Linked DNA regions of Homo sapiens: region 1 is linked to region 2. The links are contacts of gene promoters, found by promoter capture Hi-C in human tissues and cell types (Jung and others, 2019). All regions are on one chromosome and are shown on one strand. The core of a region is centred on a gene start or on the middle of the fragment in contact, and the rest is flanking DNA. Distances in the headings are between cores, read along the strand shown. Region 1 overlaps TRPS1 (transcriptional repressor GATA binding 1). Region 2 holds the start of RAD21 (RAD21 cohesin complex component).

What was found. The method cuts DNA at HindIII sites, captures the fragments that hold promoters and counts their contacts. A contact is called where the count stands out against the background at its distance.
Region 1: a contact is called between a fragment that was not itself captured here and the fragment with the promoter of RAD21 in region 2, in 1 of the 25 tissues and cell types used here (dorsolateral prefrontal cortex).

Annotation. Positions count from the first base shown.
Region 1 is chr8:115,576,836-115,582,560 of GRCh38, forward strand. All of the region lies in intron 5 of TRPS1 (transcriptional repressor GATA binding 1), which reads right to left. Among named protein-coding and RNA genes, the nearest start is that of TRPS1-AS1, 70 kb to the left of the region's middle. The HindIII fragment of the contact is 4,638 bases long and covers 1,809-5,725 here.
Region 2 is chr8:116,873,490-116,879,092 of GRCh38, forward strand. It overlaps RAD21 (RAD21 cohesin complex component), which reads right to left and starts at 1,287. Exons shown (of 14, transcript NM_006265.3): 1 at 1,122-1,287. It overlaps RAD21-AS1 (RAD21 antisense RNA 1), which reads left to right and starts at 935. Exons shown (of 2, transcript NR_033886.1): 1 at 935-1,496; 2 at 1,932-3,379. MIR3610 (microRNA 3610) reads right to left here and starts at 1,311; the gene lies at 1,239-1,311. RefSeq lists silencers at 595-644, 805-1,124 and an enhancer at 1,235-1,284. The HindIII fragment of the contact is 11,155 bases long and covers 1-5,603 here.

The DNA of each region.
Region 1 (5,725 bases), core at 2,878-5,377, 1.3 Mb before region 2:
AACACTCAGTAGTCACACAGCATAAAGTTATGACAGTATTAGCTGGATAATAAATTTGTAGACCACAAACTGTCCATCCAGACAATTTACACTTTAAAAACATCCAACCTTCTTAGAATTAGTTTGTAAGTCAGGCAAAGAGGACAGATTTTTCTATATTACCAGGGAACTTTCAGGTAGGCAATTTCTGACACTAAGATTTAGATAAGCCAAATATGTGCATCTCCTAAAATATAGCCAGTATTGCCTTCAATTATACCATGATTTTGCAAACAAATATACTTCTAAAATGTTAACAAGTAAAGTTTTTTTCCACTGTTCAATGTACAAAAGAGGATGTCTCAAAAGTCCCACTCTGAGTCTTTTTTTAAAAAAATAGCAAATAATTATTTTTAAGTAAAGTGAATGTCTCTTTCAAATGCAGTGTTTGTACATTTTTAGATTCCATATAGAAGAGTGGCTTAACTTGTTTGTCTTAAACATTCATAAATAACATCATACATCTTTTTATAAATGTATGGTTAAGAGTGGCCTGAGAATCTGTATTTTTAGCATATAGGTAGCACAAATGCAATGTTAATTCAGAAAGTATTCTTGCCCCTGCTTCTTCAAATTTTCATAAAAAATAATAAAAATATTCTATAGTTAGCAATAATATATTGCATATTTCAAAATGGCTAGAACAGAGGACTTAAAATGTTACCAGCACATTGAAATTCTGATAAATACTCAAGGTAATGGATACCCCAAAAACCCTGACTTGACCATTATTTATTCTATGTTTGCAGAAAATTCCCACGTATACCTCACCAATGTATGAAATATTATGCATCAATAACAGAAAAAAAGCATATTCTGACATTCTGACAACTTTATCAAAGAAAAATACTTAACGGAATCAATGTGCATTTAATATATTTCAGCAAAAAAATAAAAACAAAGATAATTAAATGCCATCTTTTAAAGAAAAGAGAAATCAATTCTTTTCTCTTGTACTCCCTCAAAGCCCATGCCATTACCCACACATGCGACATACATCGGGGGAAGGCGAAAACTTCAAAACTGGTTTGACAAAGCGTGAAGGGTAGCAGGAGCATCATCCATGGAGGCAAAGCAAAAGCAGAGAAAAGAGAGAAATTATTCGCCCGAGAAAGGCAAAGCCTGAGTAGACTGCTTTTAATTAAAACCCTTGACTCAACTCTGCTTAAGAAAATGAGTTCTTCTTACAAATCAATTTCTCTAAAGAATAAACTATACTGCATATGCAATATAAAGTAAGCTTATTATACTATTTACCTTGTATCGGACATGTACTGTATTCCATATATGTGATAAAATTGCCACTTGCTTTTCTCCTAATTTTTTGAATCTATCATTAAATATGTCAATTTACAATTTAGAAGTTAATCCTTAAATATTTCTAGGATATTTTTCCCACGCATTTTTTATAAGCCAAATTATTTTATACCTTAAAAATTACCCCTTTAGATAGCAGTGACTTGGACGTTAAATACCATTTGTTATAAACCATGTACTTTCTCATTTAAATAACTGGAAATATACTACATGAAATTATCCCAAAAAGATGATAAAGCAATAGAATAATATGTACAAGGAAGTCCTTCAAAATGTCCTTTATAATTAAAAATTGGAAGTAGCCTAATTGTTCATTAATAAGGAATGTCTTAAACATACTAGGATGTCACTATTCCATGGTATAATGAGGCACAAAAATGAACATTGTGGGATGTATTTGTTGATGAGAAAAGATGTCCACAATACACTGAAAAATTAAAAAAGAAAATTATAAAACAGGGAGGTACATGATCCTATACTTGAATAAAATATATATTTAAATATACATAAAGGATACATTAGATGCCAAAATATGAACACGAAAGTATTTACAGGTTGGAATTTATGAGTGGTTTTCATCTTCTTTACAGTATATTGTATTATCCAACTCTTTCGCAATAAGCATGTATCACTTATGTAATTTCAAAAAGGTATTTTGTTTTGTACATACACACATAAAAACGTGTATGCTTAGATGAAACAAATTAATTCTGAAACTGTAGAAAGTCACCCAAGTATTTATTAGCAAACCATATTGAACCAAAAGAGGCTATGCAATGGTTATGAGCAGGGACTCTAGAATTGCCAGAGCTAGAATTTAATGTCTGCCATTATAAGCAGTGTGATCTAGGCAAAATACTTAATATCCAAGCCTCAGTTTACTCATTTAAATGATGGGGATAATAATAGTTTCAACCTCAAAGAGTTCTGGTGAGGATGAAAGGAATCCATCCAGTAATAAATTAATGGAAAGGTAGTAAGCTTAATCCTAGAAACTGAATGCTAAATTGACAACCAGTTATAAATATCCGTCTATTTTAACCAAATATTTTTTGTAATGCTTTCCTATACAATTGTTTTAAAGTAGTTTCACCAGATTTTCTTTTCTTCATTAAGAATTCAAATTTAACACCTACAAACAGGTATTCTTGTGTTACCCAATGTATATAGCTACAATCAGAAAGTTAATTCCCTGAGATTCTATGTGCTTTGTCTACCAAGACTTTTTTTATGATCAAGCATCAGTCTTGTATAAAAATTTAAACTAAATGTAACACTACAGGCAAATGCAATTCAATAAATCATGTTGTCAGGGATCTTATCACTTCCTTCACACAAAATATCATTTTAACCAGAAATCTATTTTAAAAATCTTTTCCATTTTGTACCTAAATTCTCATAAAAGTTTGATTCATAATCAGTACCTTTTTTAATGGTAGCAAAAATTATAAAGTGTATTTTGCCTTTAAAAATAGATATCTATAGTGTATATACTTAGCATTTTCTGGTTATTCATGATGTTACACATATATAAATTTCCATGGTAGAAAATGGTTTATCCTTTTCCTAATTAATATGTCCAAAGTAATTCTTCAAAATTAAGAAACTGCCTTGTTTAAAAGAGGCAAGTTAACATATAAAATTACAAGTGAGAGGGAGGCATTTAATCATTCTGAGATGAACAATGATGCCAAACGCTCAATTTATCACAAGTGTGCTGTCATCAGAAAAAAACAAAACTAAGATTCCTTTGCTTCACTCCTAACCACTGATATAAAGCTGTGTTCCAGACTTCCTTGTATTTGTAAATTATAGTTCATAATAAAAGTCTATAAGTAGTATTGCTTCTCCAAAAGGAAAAAGGGTCTTCAAACATCAATGAAACAATTTGCCTTTCCTTAAACTGATAACACAACTAGATACAGCAGTACCTAGCTTGCCAAGCTTCCTTGAGTTAACAAGCAGAGCAGTCTACTAATCAATGCCTTTGCTTACAAACACTTAAGGAAAGTTTTGAACAGTATCTAATGGAAGGGAGAGAAGAAAAAAAAAAAATATATATATATATATATATGAGAGACAATGGAGATAATATTTACCTTTTTGGTGAAAATAACAAAATCCCCAAAAATCCAAAATAAAACCTCGTTGTGGCATTTTAGGTATTAATGTGCCTGTAAAATGGACCCATCAGACTGGGCTCTGCCGGAAAATTACCAGATTCACATCAACACTACATACCTCATTTTTGAATCATTCTGGCCCTGTGCTCCTGAAACTTGGGCCACCTTCTGTATACTCTTCACTTCCAACATCTAAGAATGCTCAACAATGGGTTCTTTTGGGGGCCCTGTTATGTCCTGACTCATGCAGTCCATGGAAAAGAGAAGCCAAGCAAAAGATAGTTATATAGGAAATAATGAACAGATACTGCACTAAAGGATAACATTTCACAGTAGCTGCAAACCTACAGTCCAATTCACTAAGATACATCTGCTTCACCTGCTTTAGAAACCTGGGCCAGCAGAACTATGCCAGACCTCACAAACAGCCTAGGTTACAAAAACATTGTTGTTGTCGTTTTTCAAGTGCTATTAATGTGGGTGGGAGTGTAAACTAGGGCAGCCACTATGGAGAACAGTATGGAGGCTCCTCAAAAAAACCGCAAACAGAGCTACATACATGATCTAGCAATCCCTCTCCTGAGTATTTTTCCAAAGGAAAGGAAATTAGTATATTAAAGAGACACCTGTACCCCCATGTTCACTGCAGCACTATTGACAATAATCAAGATACGGAATCAGCCTAGGTGTCCAACGACAGATAAATGAATAAACAAAATGAGGTAAATACACACAATGGAATATATTCAGTCATAAAAAAAGAATAAAATTCTGTCACTTGCAGCAACGTGAATAGAACAGGCGAACGTTATTTTAAGTGAAATAAGCCTGGAATAGAAAGTTAAACACTGCATGTTCTCACTTATATGTGGAAGCTAAAAAAAAAAAAAATTTATCTTGTAGAAACCAAAAACGGAAGAGAAGATATTAGAGGATAGGAAGGGTAGGGGGAAAGGGAGAATAGGCAGAGATTTGTTGAAGGATATGAAGTTATAGCTAGACGGGAGGAGTAAGTTTCAGTGTTCTGTAGCACTGTAGGACGCCTGTACTTAACAGTAGTATGTAGTTTCAAATAGCTGGAATAGTGAATGTCCCTAATACAAAGAAATTACAAATGTTGAGGTGATGGATATACAAATTACCCTAATCCTTCCACCACACATTATATGTATCACAACAGCACTATGTTCCCCACAATATGTACAATTATTGTGTGTGCATTAAAAAAAAAGTGCTTTAAAAAATGTGTGGGTTAATGAAGCAGACTTATAGAAAAGAAATTAGATTGCTTAAAAATCTCATTAATCAAACTAATAAAACCAAACTTCTATACCTATGGAATATGGAACGAATTTGACAACTTTCTACTGTCAAAAATGGTATATAAATGTAAAAGATGAATAATCAATAAATAAGAAAAAGCTACTTCACTTTTACACGGTAAAACAGAACTGTCATGTTCACTATTACACATAATGAATTTGATACATGGATTGTATTTTTAAAATCTAAACTAAAACATATTTGAGTTTAAATCATATATTTTTCAAATAGATGTCAACAGAAATACATCTATATGGCACAGAAGCAGAGACATGTACAAGGATTTTTCATCTCTGCATATAGTCAATAGTTTTTAATCATTTATTTTACTCTCAGGCAAAGAAAATATCAACTGCTACCTAAAGAGAAACTACCAACAGGGCCTAAAGTCATGGCTTCATAACCAGTGTTTAGAGAGGTATATACTTCCCATTTTTCCTGATATAGTCTGATCTCTTTGGTATTTTACTTATGCACATGTAAAAAGTCCAAATCGGGTGAGAAAACAGTTATGTACATAAACATTAAGTCAGTGCTACCTCTTTGATAACTGGAATTTTGCTTTCATTTTAATTAAATATGAAGCAAAACAATGAATATCACTTTTCACTTCAGACCATCTTTAGTTAAAAAAAAGCTCCTGCAGTCTTCTGTCAGTGGTTGTAAAGGCATTCAACATTGTCACTTGTTTAAACGTCTGTTTGGCTGCCAATGGACTGTCCCCAAAAGAACATTTTTGCATCTCAATAGTCTGTCCGGTATCAACAATCTTTAAACTATAAATTTAACGCTGCTGAAGAAAAGGGGAAATAACATTCTCATTGTACTGTCCTGGTATCACACTTACAAAATGAACAAATAATCAGACTATTTCCACTTATCTAGCACTCTGCATCTGAGGATCTCAAATGGCCTGACAAACG
Region 2 (5,603 bases), core at 37-2,536:
TTTACACCCAATTTAAGAAAATAGAAATTTTTGCCTGAAAACCAATTACTCTTCTAACCAGTATAATGACAACAAAGATTAACTTTCCCTTGCAAAAAGAAGCCGATAAACACAAGCCTTTCCCAGAAACTCTTCGCACAAACGCTGTTTTTTTTTTCACGCTGAAGACACTAACAAATCAGAGTGACCAAGTAAATCCCCCAGGGTTTCCCTCTTACAAATTTGAAGAAGGCCGCTAAGTCTGGCAGCACAACCCGACAGTGTCACCCCACACTATCAAAGCGGATCATTCGCAAAAAGCCTTTTTCAGCGACGAAAAGGGCATCAAGCATTTATCAGAAACACACACCTCCCCCAGAGCGTCTCTACAACACCCGATATCCTTAATCACTTTAAAGAATGATCAGAAAAGTTCAGGGGAAAACCAATTATGCAAATATCCTTGGAAAAAGAAGCAACTTCCCTCCGTCTCTTTTTCCACGCGTCTGTGAAATATTCAGCATTCCCAACGTAAAAATTATCTTTTTAAAACGGGAGGGCAGCAGCAGTCACTGGCCGAGGGGCACCCGCCGACCCCCCGCCCCACCCCGCCCAGCCCCACCAGCTCCGCACTTTCTTGAGCCCCGCACCCGAGTTCGGCGGAAGGTTGCTGCTCCCGGGGCTGGCACCGCGGGCGCCGGGCCCGCCACCGCCTCCTCCCAGACAGCCATTTTTACCCGCGGAGTAGGCGGCCCGGTCCCCAGAGCGGGCTCGTTCAAACCTCCTCCCCTCCCTCCGCAGCCCAGGGTTTCCCCGGCCTCCTGGGGGACGTGAGATGGACCTGCAGGGTAACAGCCTTTGTAGATCTCAGAATGGATCAGAATCATTTGTTACCGAACAAGCGATGATGCGGGCCCAAGCTGCATGGGTCCGGGCCGAGGGCGGGCCCGGGGCGAAGGGGGCTGGGCGGGTGGCGCCGCCGCTTGGGCGCCGGGAGGGTGGCAGCACGCGTGGGCGCGGCGAGGGCTGCCTTCTCCCTCGCCCTCCCGCCCCCAGGAGTCCGGCTCCCCGACGGCAGAGCGGCGGGGAAAGGGTGGGGGGAGGGAGCTGGAGGAAAAGAAGGGGTCGGCCGAGTCTCTTACCTTGCTCTCCGCTGGGAGTTGGGCGGGCTGGGTGGCCCGGGGAGGGGAAAAGGGTCGGGGGAGGGGGTGGGGAAAGGGGGGAGCCCTTGCGAGGTGTAGCTTCCGAGCAGCTCCCGCCGCCGCCACAGCCGGCGCCTCCTTTCCGATTCACTCAAACAAACAAGATGGCTGCCGTTACGCCGCGGCTCTTCCTGCCGCCCAAATCCTCGGTTCAAATCGGCAGGATGTTTACGGTCAAAATGGTACCTGTGCGCCTGCGCAGCCAGCCCAAGCCCCCCCCTCCCCCCAGAAGGAGCGGCGCAGGCGCAATGACTATTTCCTTTTCTTTGGAACCCGCCCTCTGTTTGTGGAGTCCACAACTGAGCAAGCGCAAAGGTGATTCTCTTGCGAGGGTCTTTGAGAGTTGCGGTGTTAGCCAATAGCGTAAGATAGCGCACGCGCAGTGCTTTCCAGTGCGGTGAATATTTGCGTTTAGCTTTATTCTTGTGCTTGTTTTAAAGAAAAAAGCTGTCGTGGTGCAATTTTGTGTGCCCCCACCAAAAAATTCATTTTATGGCTCTATAGGGATGAAAGTAACATAAAAACCTCAAACTAATTCCATAAAATATAGAGGTTCATTTATTCAGTCAACCTATATTATAGAGGGTCTTCTGTTTGCTACACGTTGGGCTCTGGATATAATGATTAATATAACAGAGATAATAACTGCCTTTTGGAAATTTTCAGTATTGCTTGGGAGGAATCTTAAAATTTCTTATCTTAAAAGACTTACTTGTACCACGAAGAAATTTACTTTTGTTTTTATTGTAGAGATCTTTCCAGTGATGAAAGAAATTGAAGAGGACACACAAAAATGGAAATATATTCCATGTTCATGGATTGGAAGAATCAATATTGTTAAAATTTCCATACTACCCAGAGCAATCTACAGATTCAATGTAATCCCTATCAAAATATCAATGACATTCTTCACAGAAAGAGGAAAAAAATCCTAAAATTTATATGGAACCACAATAAGACCAAGAATAGCCAAAGCAATCCTGAGCAAAAGAATAAAGCTGGAGGCATCACATTACCTGACTTCAAATTATACTACAAAGTGATAGTAAACAAAACAGCATGGTGCTGGCATAAAAACAGACACATAGACTAACGGAACAGAATAGAGGACCTATAAATAAATCAATACATATACAGTCAACTAATTTCTGACAAAGCTGCCAAGAACATACGTTGGGAAAAGGATGGTCTCTTCCAAAAATTGTTCTGGAAAAACTAGATAACTATATGTAGAAGAATGAAACAGATCACTATCTTTTGCCATATTAAAAAAATCAAAACAAAATGGCTTGAAGACTGGAATCTAAGATTTGAAACTATTGAAACTACTAGAAGAAAACGTTAGGGAAATGCTCCAGAACCAAATATTTCTTAGTAAGACCTTAAAAGCATAGGCAAGCAAAGCAAAAATGGACAAATGGGATCATGCCAAGCTAAGAACCTTCTGCAAAGCAAACAACAAAGTGAAGAGACAACCCATCAAGTGGGGGAAAATACTTGCAAACTACTCATCTATCACAGAATTAATAGCCATAATATATAAGGAGCTCAAACAATATAATAGGAAAATAATCCAATTAAAATTGAGCAAAAGACCTGAATGGTTATTTCTCAAAAAAGACATACAAATGGCCAACAGGGATATGAAAAAATGCTTAACATCACTAATCATCAGAGAAATGCATATCAAAACTAGGATGAGGTATAATCTCATCCCAGTTGAAATGGCTTTTATCCAAAATACAGGCAATAATGAATGCTGATAAAGATGTGGAGAAAGAGAAACACTCGTACACTGTTGGTAGGAATGTATGTTAGTACAGCACTGTGAAGAACAGTATAGAGATTCCTTAAAAACCTAAATATAGAGCCACCATATGAGCCAGCAATCCCACTCCTGAGTAAATACCCCCCCCCAAAAAAAAAGGAAATCAGTACATCAGAGTGGTATCTGCCCTCTCACATTTATTGCAGCAAGATTCACAATTGTCAAGATATGGTATCAACGTAAGTGTCCATCAGTGGATAGATGGGTAAAGAAAATGTGGTACACATACACAAGATAATATTTTTCAGCCATAAAAAAGAAAAAAAGTCCTTTCATTTGCTGCAACATGGATAGAACTGGAAGACATTAAGTGAAATAAACCAGGCACAGAAAGACATTAGTGTGAATGTTCACACTAATATGTGGGAGCTTAAAAAAAAAAAAAAGAACTCATTGAGATAGAAGGTAGAATGATGGTTACCAGAGCCTGGGAAAGGTAGTGGGGAGGGGGCAGATGAGTACAAAATCTGCCCCCTCAGATTTGGTACAAAAATACAATTAGAAAGAAGGAATAAAGTCTAGTGTTTGGTAGCACAATAGGGAAACTATAGTTAATAACTTACTATATATTTCAAAATAACTAAAAGAGTGGAATTGGAATGTTTCTAACACAAAGAAATGATAAATACTTGAGGTGATGGATACCCCAATTACCATGGTTTGTTACACATTGTATGCTTGTATTGAAATGTCAGACGTACCTTATAATTGTGTACAACTATTATGAATCCATAATAATAAAAACGTATTTTAAAAAGAAATTTTGTGTCCAGTTTCTGAATGTATTTTCATTTTAAAGTAAAACACACAGGAAAAGCAGACATTTAAGTCCATATACTCCTCATTGTCAGCAACCACTACTTCTGGACACTTCCAGGATTTTAATGACACACAGAACACCTCACTTTTACCCTTCTTATGCTGATATAGGAGATGGATAAGAAAGTGGACAGTCTTGTGCTCCACTCACTGTGGGTCCACTGTTTTTGGGTTGGGGCAAGGTTCGTCTCACTGGCTGGAGTCCATTAGCTAAGTGGCCATACTGGCCACAGCTCAAAGCTTTATCAAGTGAATTTCTGTTGTAGTTAGCCAAATATTTTATGTTCTTTTGGTTTGTTTTTAATGGAGACTTTAAGAAATTGGCATTAAGGATAGTTGTTAAAATCCCAAGCTGGGGAGTGAAGGAGTACAAGCACTTTTAACATTTTAAGCATGCTTTCCCTCGACCAATATAGATTAGATGCTCAAAGCACTTAAATCCTTCCTGCTGGTGTGGCTTTAAGCAAACTCAACAGTGGCAGTTGTTGCATCATCTCAAAAAAAAAAAAAATACAAGCTCATTAACAATTAAACTCCTTGCAACAGAAATTAGATTTCTGCCAGTGAACAATTTAATTCTTCACTTCAAAATAATTTCGGTGTATCAGCTGCTAAATGACCTCAAAACTAATCATGTGGGAAAAGTCTCCTGTCAGGTTAAGAATCACACAACCATGTTGCATGGTGAAGACGTTGTCGTTCATATTAAATTTCAGTTTAAATCAATCCCAGCTTCAAACTATGGCCAGGTGAATATGCATTGCCACTTCTTGTCTCTCTTATATTACATTAGCTTTTAGAGTTTTTGTTCATGGAACCATATATTTTTCATCTGTATTTGAATAAAAACAATTCTCTTTTCCTCATTTCTAGCAGCAAGTCTGATTCTAATATTTAAATCAACAGGCTTACCTTTTTCTTAAGACATTTATTTTTCTACTTTTGGGGGATGGTTATGAACATGGGCTTTGGGTTCAAATTCTTCTCTTCTACCTCCCAGCTGTTTTAACATGTACAATTAATGTCTGAGCTTTGATTTCTTTATTAATAAAATGAGGGTAATACTTGTCATGATGTTTGAAATAATTCAATAGGATCACATACACAAAGTGCTTAGTATAGTGCTTGGAACTGAGTAATTAATAAATGGCAGGTATTACTCTAGTTTTATCTGCTTTCTGAATAATAAGATATCAAGCAAGGTATGGGAAATATTTATCAGATATTCAATTTATAAGAACATCAGTAAACACCGGGATACTCTGCCCCATTCTGACTATATCCTGTTTTATGTTTATATTTGAAAATTATTCTCTCTCTCTCTCTGTCTTCTCTCTCCTCTCTCTCTCTGTCTTCTCTCTCTCTTCTCTGTCTCTCTCCATCTTTCTCTTACATGCTGTTCTCCTACCCCAAGTTACCTCCCAAAGTACTACATTTCTTTTCTCTTGAACTATTTATTCTTACTCAGAGCTCCCAACTCTGAGCCCGCCTTCCCATTTGTAGATTTTAATATAGTTTCTTCACATACAGTCCTAATCCCCTAAATGGCTGGATTTGATTCTTTGAACAAGTTGTATGTTTTATTCTGGCTTGGAGTCTCCTCTTATCAACATACCCATCCACCTCCTTGTATTAAAATGTCAAGTTAAATTTCTTATTGCAGGAGTTAGCTGCAGTATCTCTTCTCCCTGGAAATACTTATCTGATGAATGTGCATTTGTCAAAATTAGTAATTGTGAATTTGTTTGACTAAAACCATGAGAGGACAGATTTCA